2 separate regions of the Homo sapiens genome follow, and region 1 is linked to region 2. Evidence: promoter capture Hi-C in 16 types of primary human blood cells and fetal thymus (Javierre and others, 2016). All regions are on one chromosome and are shown on one strand. The core of a region is centred on a gene start or on the middle of the fragment in contact, and the rest is flanking DNA. Distances in the headings are between cores, read along the strand shown. Region 1 overlaps GYS1 (glycogen synthase 1). Region 2 holds the start of NUCB1-AS1 (NUCB1 antisense RNA 1).

Region 1 (4,778 bases), core at 116-2,615, 55 kb before region 2:
GCCAAGGCAGGTGGATCACGAGGTCAGGAGATCTAGACCATCCTGATTTAACACAGTGAAACCTCGTCTCTACTAAAAATACAAAAAATTAACCGGGCGTGGTGGTAGGCGCCTGTAGTTCCAGCTACTCGGGAGGCTGAGGCAGGAGAATGGCATGATCCTGGGAGGTGGAGCTTGCAGTGAGCCGAGATTGTGCCACTGCATTCCAGCCTGGGCGACAGAGCGAGACTCCGCCTCAAAAATAAATAATAATAATTTAAAAGAAAAGAAAGAAAACCTTTACAGGTTGTACTAGTGGGAATCCACAACTCCTGGTGATCACTTGGGTTTGTTGCCCCACGTCCGGTGCATTTGTGGTCTCCTTGGCTCCCCCAGGGTCCGCATGGCTCATGAGGAAGTAGGGAGTTCTCTGTCCCTTCCATGACCCCTTACCCTTCTTGTGGCTCCTGCAGCGGCAGTCTTTCCCCCCTGTGTGCACCCACAATATGCTGGATGACTCCTCAGACCCCATCCTGACCACCATCCGCCGAATCGGCCTCTTCAATAGCAGTGCCGACAGGGTGAAGGTGAGGGCATTTGGTCAGGGCTGGGTTGGGCACGGCAGAGGGAAGGGGTTGGGTCCTGGGCCTCACACACTCCATTCCCCTATAAGTTTTATCAAAGGTATTGCTGTGGTTAGAAAGAACCCTGGCTTCTGAGGCAGGCAGACCTGGGTTTGAACATTGGTCCTGCCAAACACATGCTGTGTGATGCTAGACAAGCTTTTTACCCTCTCTGGGCCACCTTGGGATCTCAGGGCTTAGCTAAATAAGGCACTTGGGCTGAGTCCTTCTTTTTCACTACCAGGTGATTTTCCACCCGGAGTTCCTCTCCTCCACAAGCCCCCTGCTCCCTGTGGACTATGAGGAGTTTGTCCGTGGCTGTCACCTTGGAGTCTTCCCCTCCTACTATGAGCCTTGGGGCTACACACCGGGTGAGTGTAGTGGGCAGGGGACAGCGTGGTCATGGCATCCTAGTCAGAGCTAGCATGTCTTGGGGCGAGGCACTGGCCTTCTCTGAGCCTGTTGCCTTCTTTGCAAAACAGGAACAATGGTAATCACCTGTTCTGCTACAGCGCGTGCTTTTGTGATACAATAGCTCATGTATTGAGAAACTAGAAGACTGGGTTTTGAGGACTAGTGAACTGGATGTCACAGTTCACACTGCTTTCTCCCAGAAAGCAGTGGCCCCCCAAATAGTGGCAATGAAATGCACAATTCACAAATACAGCCGAGTGTGGCCAAGTCTCCTCGTAAGACGTTCCCAGTGCCCATCAACTCCACCTTCCTCTTGTTGGTTCACATTAGCCAGTGTTTTTAAAGCTAAATAAGGCTGGGCGTGGTGGCTCATGCCTGTAATCCCAGCACTTGGGGAGGCCAAGATGGGCAGATCATGAGGTCAGGAGTTTGAGACCAGCCTGGCCAATATAGTGAAACCCTGTCTCTACTAAAAATACAAAAATTAGCCAGGTGTGGTGGTACGCACCTGTAGTCTCAGCTACTTGGGAGGCTGAGGCAGAGAATTGCTTGAACTTGGGAGGCGGAGGTTGCAGTGAGCTGAGATCATGCCACTGCACTCCGGCAGTGCTGTGCTCTGGGTGACAGAGCGAGACTCCGTCTCAAAAAAAAAAAAAAAAAAAAATTAAAGCTAAATTAGTGCCATTTCCTAATTTATTAGTAATTTAACAAGTCCTGCAAACTGTGCTTGCATGATAATTAGGAGTCGCGGTCAGCCCCAATTCCCTTTTTCCATAGGCCTTGTTTTATAGATAGATTGATAGATAGTACTAGTCTGTTTTCACACCGCTATAAAAAAAAAATCCAAGACTGGGTAATTTATAACGGAAAGAGGTGTAATTGACTCACCGTTCCACATGTCTGGAGAGGCCTCAGAAAACTCAGTCATGGCAGAAGGGGAAGAAAGAAGCTTCTTCTCATGGCGGCAGGAGGGAGAAGTATGTGAGGGTGCAGGAAAAACGAACATTTATAAAACCATGAGATCTCGTGAGAATTCACTCACTATCATGAGAACAGCGGCGGGGGAACCACCCCCGTAATCCAATCATTTCCCTCCCTCGACACGTGGGGACTACATTTTGAGATGAAATTTGGGGGGGAACACAGAGTCAAACTATATCATAAATATATATTTAATACATTTTACTATTTGTTTCTTTTTTGAGATGGGGTTATTACTCTGTTGCCAAGGCTCACCTGGAACTCCTAGGTTCAGGTGCTTCTGCCTCAGCCTCTTGAGTATCTGTCATTATAGGTGCATCCCACCATGCCTGACAGATGTATTATATTTAGTGCCTATTTTTGCAGTTTACAGATGTTTTTAGGAAAACTTACATAAGAATTATAGATCAGGCCAGGCATGGTGGCTCACGCCTATAATCCCCACACTTTGGGAGGCCGAGGTGGGAGGATCACTTGAGGACATGAGTTTGAGACCAGCCTGGCCAACATGGTGAAACCCTATCTCTACTACAAATACAAAAATTAGCTGGGGGTGGTGGCAGGCACCTGTAATCCCAGCCCTTCGGGAAGTTGAGGTGGGAGAATCGTTTGAACCCCAGAGGCAGAGATTGCAGTGAGCTGAGATCGCGCCACTGCACTCCAGCCTGGGCGACAGAGTCAGACCCTGTCTAAAATAATAATAATAATAATTATAGGTCAGGGGCAGTGGCTCACACCTATAATCCTAGCATCTTGGAAGGCTGAGGTGGGAGGATAGCTTGAGCTCAGGAGTTCAAGACCAGCCTGGACAACATGGTGAGACCCTGTCTCTATAAAAGATTTTTTTTTTTTTTTGAGACAGAGTCTTGCTCTATTGCCAGGCTGGAGTGCAGTGGCACAGTCTTGGCTCACTGCAACCGCCTCCCGGGTTCAAGTGATTCTCCTGCCTCAGCCTCCAGAGTAGCTGGGACTATAGGCGCCTGCCACCACACCCAGCTAATTTTTGTATTTTTATTAGACACAGGGTTTCACCATGTTGGCCAGGATGGTTTTTTTTTTTTTCTCTTCTTGACCTCGTGATCCACCCGCCTTGGCCTCCCAAAGTGCTGGGATTACAGACATGAGCCACCGTGCCCGGCCTTTTTTTTTTTTATTTTTAATTAGCCATGCGTAGTGTTGTGTGCTCGTAGTCCCAGCCTCTTGGGTGGCTGAGGTGGGAGGATTGCTTGAGCCTAGGAGGTCAAGGCTGCAGTGAGCTATGATCAAGCCACTGTCCTCCAGGTTGGGTGATAAAGTGAGACCTTGTCTCGAGAAAAAAAAAAAAAAAGCATTGGGCCAGGCGCAGTGGCTCACACCTATAATTTGACCACTTTGGGAAGCCAAGACGGATGGATCACCTGAGGTCAGGAGTTCAAGACCTGCCTGGCCAACATGGTGAAACCCTGTCTATACTAAAAAATACAATAATTAACTGGGCATGGTGGTGTGTGCCTGTAGTCCCAGCTACTCGGGTGGCTAAGGCACGAAAATCGCTTGAACCCGGGAGGTGAAGGTTGCAGTGAGCCGAGATTGTGCCACTGCACTACAGCTTGGGTGACAGAGTGAGACCCTGTCTCGAAAGAAAAAAAAAAAAGCATAAAAATCCATCAAAAAATTATAATACATTCCTTGAACTATTTCTCAAGGTTGTTAAAGGTATTAAACAAGACGTACTAGATGCTCTGTACACAGGGATACTAATAATGAGAGACCTTATCTTACCCCCCATCAAAATAGACTAAGTCCGTACAAGATACTGGCACAAGAAAGGATCTTACAGGTTGTGACAATTAAGTAGAATGATGGACCTTGGCCCGATCCTACAGGTTGTGAGAGTTAAGTCAAATGGATATTGGGATGCTCAATAAATTAGCATCCTTATCTCCCAACTATGGACTTTCCCGCATCTTGGAGCAAGAGCAAGTAATTCTCTTTTCTGAGCCTCTTAGCGTCCCCTCTGAGAAATAGGGAAATGCACAGCCTGGTTGTGGGGGCTCAGCGACGCTCCGCACAGCGCCTGGCACTTGGTACAGGCGCCAGTAGAGGGCGGTGTTGAGGCGTCTATTGCGATTAAGACGGTAGGCGATGAGGGAAGCTAAGTGGGTCTCTCTCCTGCCTTCCCGCAGCTGAGTGCACGGTTATGGGAATCCCCAGTATCTCCACCAATCTCTCCGGCTTCGGCTGCTTCATGGAGGAACACATCGCAGACCCCTCAGCTTACGGTCAGCGCCCAGGCCCCTGAGGATTCTGGAAGGGGGCTTGAGAACAGTGACTCCTGGATCCTGGGAAGGAGGAGCTTGCACCCTTGGAGACCAGGGGCACCAGGAAATGGGGGGGCTCTCGGGCCGCTGGGAGAGGAGGGGTCCTGGTGCCACAGAGTCCTGGAGACCATGAAGATCTCCCCAGGATGTTTTCTGAACCTGGGTCCTGGCCTCCACAGGTATCTACATTCTTGACCGGCGGTTCCGCAGCCTGGATGATTCCTGCTCGCAGCTCACCTCCTTCCTCTACAGTTTCTGTCAGCAGAGCCGGCGGCAGCGTATCATCCAGCGGAACCGCACGGAGCGCCTCTCCGACCTTCTGGACTGGAAATACCTAGGCCGGGTAGGACCCCCACTTTCCTATCCTCTCCTGGCAAATCAGCAGCTCCTGGCTAGGGGTCTTTGGTGCAGGGTGCAGGGTCTCATCCTACTTGTAACAGTTGCTGTCCCTTTAAGCAATGAACCAGGCCGATCGCGATGG
Region 2 (5,431 bases), core at 904-3,403:
CCATGTGGGTGGGCAAAGAAGCCCAAGTGGGAGGTGGGAGTGGGATAAAGACCGAGAGACAAGGCCGGGCACCATGGCTCCCACCTGTAATCCCAGGACTTTGGGAGGCGAAAGTGGGAAGGATCACTTGACGCCAGGAGTTCAAGGTCAGCCTGGGCAACGGAGCGAGACCCTGTCTCTACAGAAAATTGGCTGGGCATCTTGAAAAATATATAGAAATAGGCCAGGCACCATGGCTCACACCTGTAATCCCAGCACTTTCGGAGGCCGAGGTGGGTGGCTCACCTGAGGTCAGTAGTTTGAGATGAGCCTGACCAACATGGAGAAACCCCGTCTCTACTAAAAATACAAAATGAGCAGGGCATGGTGGTACATGCATATAATCCCAGCTACTCAGGAGGCTGAGGCAGGAGAATTGCTTGAACCTGGGAGGTGGAGGTTGCAATGAGCTGAGAATGCACCATTGCACTACAGCCTGGGCAACAAGAGCAAAACTCTGTATTGAAAAATAAACAAACAAATAAATAAATAAATAAAACAGAGACCTAGATTAGCTGGGCATGGTGGTATGTGCCTGTAGTCCCAGTTACTCAGGAGGCTAAGGAAGGAGGATCACCTGAGCCCAGGAATTCAAGGCTGCAGTGAACTATGATTACACCACTGCACTCCAGCCTGGGTGACAGGAGACCCTGTCTCAAAAAATATTAATAAATAAATAAAAGAATGAGCTAGATTAGCTAGGCATGCTGGCATGTGCCTGTAGTCCCAGCTAATAGGGAGGCTCAGGCAGGAGGATCACTTGAGGACAGGAGTTTGAGGCTGCAGTGGGCCATGATAACACCCCTGCACTCCAGCCTGGGTAATCCCAGCACTTTGGGAGGCTGAGAAGGGTGGATAGCTTGAGTCCAGGAGTTTCAGAGCAGCCTGGCCAACATGCAAAACCCTGTCTCTACCAAAAAATACAAAAATTAGCTAGGTGTGGTGCGGTGGTGCATGCCTGTAATCCCACCACTTAGGGAGGCCAGGTCAGGTGGATCGCTTGAGTCCAGCAGTTCTAGAGCAGCCTGGCCGATATGGCAAAACCCCATCTCTACAAAAAATACAAAAATTAGCCAGGCATGGTGGCTCACGCCTGTAATCCCAGCTACTCATGAGGCTGAGATGGGAGGATCGCTTGAATCCAAGAGGCGGAGGTTGCAGTGAGCCGAGATCCCACCACTGGGCTCCAGCCTACGCGACAGAGCAAGACCCTGTTTCAGAAAAAAAAAAAAAAAAAAAAAAATCACACCTCTAATCCCAGCACTTTGGGAGGCCAAGGTGGGTGGATAACCTGAGGTCAGGAGTTTGAGACCAGCCTGGCCAACATGGTGAAATCCTGCCTCTACTAAAAATACAAAAATCAGCTGGGTGTGGTGGCACGCACCTATAATCCCAGCTACTCAAGAGGATGAGCCAGGAGAATTGCTTGAACCTGGGAGGTGGAGGCTGCAGTGAGCCGAGATCGTGCCACTGCACTGCAGCCTGGGCGATGGAGTGAGACTCCGTCTCAGAATAAATAAATAAATAAATAAATAAATAAATAAATAAATAAGAGTCCTAGAGACAGGGGAAAACAGAGACCCAGAGATAGAGATGCAGTGACCCAGGAGAATGGACGGGGACCCAGAGAGAAAGAGAAGGGGCCTAAGATTCTGAAAGAAAGGTCATGGCTAGAAGAGAGAGAGGTTCAGGACCCCGAGTATCCCCCATGTTCTCACCTCCCAGCCCTCCCCGGTGTCCCCAAACTCCTTCCTCTGAGTGGATGCGAGGAACTCCTCCAGGGTCACGAGGCGGTCCTGGTTGGTGTCCACCTGGGGAGCCAGATAAGGGTGAGTGACAGAGCTGGGGGCCCGTCCTCTCCCCCGCCTGGCCCCCACCTCACATTCTTCATCACATGCTCCCGCATGCGCAGTCGCTCCTCCTCCATCTCCCGCATGTCGTCCTCCTCATTCTTTGGGTCGTACACTTTCTCCAGCTGCAGGAGCAAGCGAGAGGCAGACAGCATTGAGAGGTCCCCAGCGAGCTCATTCCCGACAACTTCAACTCCCAGCAGTCCTTTGGGCACGCTACCACTCCTGGGAGCCGTTTTTGCCCCAGGGGCTGATGGGAGTTGTAGTTTTCACTGAGCTCCCATCCAGGGGGATTTAAGGGGACTGCAGGAGGAAACAAGTGGCTGATTTGGGCGTCCCTCCAGGTGCCCGAGGCTTCCAAGATGCTCACCTCCTTGGTGAAGAGTGCCTCCAGCTCCTGCTCATCCAGGACACCATCACTGTTGATATCTGAAGGGAAGAGGATAGCAAGGTATCTCAGGGGACCGAGGACGGGATGTGTAAGGTCCCTGGTGAAGAAATTTTGGGCTGATGTGGGGTCTGTTATCAGAGGACAGGTAACTACGGGTCTCCCGCGGTGGAACGGTGGCCCCCAGGCTTTAGTACCCCACTAGACCCGTTGCTAGGGCCACTGCCTAGCGACCAGGGGGTTGAGAATGGAATAGATCAAAGGGAGGGTTCGAGGAAACATGCTTGGGTCACTGTCATGCAGGATTCTCTGGCCCTGGCATTCAGTGCTCTGGACACAGAGTCAGCTCCAGGGTTATCAGGGACCTCTGCCTCCCAGACAACCAGGCCAGTGCCGACTCCAGTTGTGAGGGGAGCCTCTCCTACCAACGTAGACCCCACAGCTGCAGGGCTTCAGGCTCGGTCAGCCACACTTCCTGTCCTCACCACCGGCCCTCCTTCCTCGGCTCCCTCAGACAAGCACAACCTTCCTCCTGAGGAGGAGGCCAGGAACCCTCATCTTGCAAATCCAGTGGTTAATTTCCACCTGCATCTGACTTGACTTTCTGCCCTTGGCTTCCAGAACATGATTCTGTCCTCTCTGGCTGCCCCTCCACCTCCTTTGACGGCTCCATCCTCTTCCTGACCTCCACATGCTAGTGTGGCCCAGGGCTCAGGCCTGGGGGTCTCTTCTCTGCCTAAACTCTGGATCTGCGCTGTCCAGTACAGTAGCCGCTAGCCACATGGGCTGTTTAAATGTAAATTGATTAAGATTAAAGAAAATGTAGGGGCCAAATTTAGGGGCTCATGCCTGTAATCCCAGTACTTTGGAAGGCTAAGGCAAGATCATTTGAGCACATTAAGTTCGAGACCAGCTTAGAAAAGATGGCTAGACCCCGTCTCTACAAAAAAAAAAAAAAAAGTAAAAAATTGGGCCGGGTGCGGTGGCTCACGCCTGTAATCCCAGCACTTTGGGAGGCCGAGGCAGGAGGATCACCTGAAGTCAGGAGTTCAAGACCAGCCTGGCCAGCATAGTAAAACCCCGTCTCTACAAAAATACAAAAATTAGCCAGGCATAATGCCAAGTGCCTGTAACCCCAGCTACTCAGGAGGCTGAGGCAGGAGAATAGCTTGAACCTGGGAGGCGGGGGTTGCAGTGTGCCAAGATCATGCCATTGCACTCCAGCCTGGGCAACAGAGCAAGACTCTGCCTCAAAAAGAAAAAAAAAATTTAAAAATTGGCTGGGCATGGTGGTGTGCACCTATGATCCCAGCTACTCTAAGGGTTGAGGTGGAAGAATCACTTGAGCCCAGGAGGTCTGGGTTGCAGTGAGCCATGATCACGCCACTGCACTCCAGCCTGGGTGACAAAGGGAAGCCCCATCTCTAAAAATAAAAAAAATGAAAAATAAAAAAAGGTATAGGGAGTTGCTCTGAACCTATTCTGGTCTGTAGGGACTGCCTGATTAAAAAGATTAAATAAGGTTTTTATTTTTTTATTTTTTAGAGACAGGGTCTCACTCTGTCACCCAGGCTGGAGTGCAATGGTGTGATCGTAGCTCACTGAAGCCTTGAACTCCTCGGCTCAAGTGATCCTCCCACCTCAGCCTCCCAAGTAGCTGGGACTACAGATGCACGCCACCACACCCAGCTAATTTTTGTATTTGTTTTCATAGAGATGGGGTTTTGCCATGTTGCCCAGGCTGGTCTTGAACTCCTGGTCTCAAGGGATCCAGCCGCCTTGGCTTCGCAAAGTGCTGGGATTATAGGGGTAAGCCACTGCGCCGGGCCTATTTATTTGTTTATTTATTTTTGAGACAGAGTCTCGCTCTGTTGCCAGGCTGGAGTGCAGTGGCATGATCTCAGCTCACTGCAACCTCCACCTCCAGGGTTTAAGTGATTCTCCTGCCTCAGCCTCCTGAGTAGCTGGGACTGCAGGTGCGTGCCACCATGCCCAGATAATTTTTGTATTTTTAGTAGAGACGGGGTTTCACTATGTTGGCCAGGATGGTCTCGATCTCTTGAGCTCCTGATCTGCCTGCCTTGGCCTCCGAAAGTGCTGGGACTACAGGCGTGAGCCACTGAGCCCAGCCTATTTTCTATTTTTTAGAGACAGGGTTTCACTCTGTTGCCCAGGCTGGAGGGCACTGGTATGATCATAGCTCACTGCAGCCTTGAATTCCTGGACTCAAGTGATCCTCCCACCTCTGCCTCCCAAGGAGCTGGGACTACAGATGCACGCCACCACACCCAGCTAATTTTTGTATTTTATTTGTAGAGATGGGTTTGTGCCATGTTGCCCAGGCTGGCCTTGAACTCCTGGACTCAAGGGATCCACCCACCTCGGCCTCCCAAAGTGCTGGGATTACAGGCGTGAGCCACCGCATCCAGCCCAAATGTCCTCTCTAGAGCTGTGCTGGGACTCCAGTACAGCAGCCACTAGCCACATGGGGCAATTGAAATAGAAATTAATATCCAGTAGAATGAAAACTTCAGTTCCTCACCATTATGCTAAGTGAAATAAGCCAAACACACACACACACACACACACACACACGACAAATACCAAAAGATTCTACTTGCATGAAGTACCTAAAATAGTCAAAATCATAGAGACAGAAAATAGAATGGTGGTTGCTAGAGAGCAGGGGAAAGAAGGGGAGGGCGAGTGGTTTAATGGATACGGTTTCGGTTGTGCGAGATGAAGAGCTCTCAGAATTGGTTGCATGACAGTGTAAATATACTTAATACTATTGAACTGTACAATTAAACATCTTTAAAGCTGGGCGCAGTGGCACACACCTGCAGTCTCAGCTACTCAGGTGACTGAGGCAGGAGGATTGTTTGAGGCCTGGAGTTTGACTCCAGCCTGGGCAACATAGCAAGATCCTGTCTCAAAAAAAAAACAAAACAAAACACGGGGGGTGGTGCCCGGTGGGATGGCTCATGCTTGTAACCCCAGCACTTCGGGAGGCCAAGATAGGTGGATCGCTTGAGCAAAGGAGTTTGAGACCAGCCTGGGCAACATGGTAAAACCTTGCCTTTACTAAAAATTAAAAAAATTAGCCAGGCATAGTGGTACGTGCCTGTGGTCCCAGATACTTGGGAGGCTGAGG

Evidence for each region. Contacts are between HindIII fragments. The CHiCAGO score rates a contact against its expected background, and 5 or more counts as called.
Region 1: a fragment that was not itself captured here is called in contact with the fragment with the promoter of NUCB1-AS1 in region 2 in 4 of 17 cell types (erythroblasts, megakaryocytes, M1 macrophages and 1 more); the score reaches 5.7 in erythroblasts.

The regions. Positions count from the first base shown.
Region 1 is chr19:48,970,408-48,975,185 of GRCh38, reverse strand. GYS1 (glycogen synthase 1) reads left to right here. Exons shown (of 16, transcript NM_002103.5): 11 at 453-566; 12 at 847-973; 13 at 4,163-4,258; 14 at 4,477-4,640. Among named protein-coding and RNA genes, the nearest start is that of FTL, 7.5 kb to the right of the region's middle. RefSeq lists a cis regulatory region at 3,838-4,358 and an enhancer at 4,335-4,778. The HindIII fragment of the contact is 1,204 bases long and covers 764-1,967 here.
Region 2 is chr19:48,915,613-48,921,043 of GRCh38, reverse strand. It overlaps NUCB1-AS1 (NUCB1 antisense RNA 1), which reads left to right and starts at 2,153. Exons shown (of 2, transcript NR_046633.1): 1 at 2,153-2,340. NUCB1 (nucleobindin 1) reads right to left here. Exons shown (of 13, transcript NM_006184.6): 8 at 2,260-2,318; 9 at 1,922-2,014; 10 at 1,758-1,850. RefSeq lists an enhancer at 1,455-1,954. The HindIII fragment of the contact is 8,372 bases long and covers 1-5,431 here.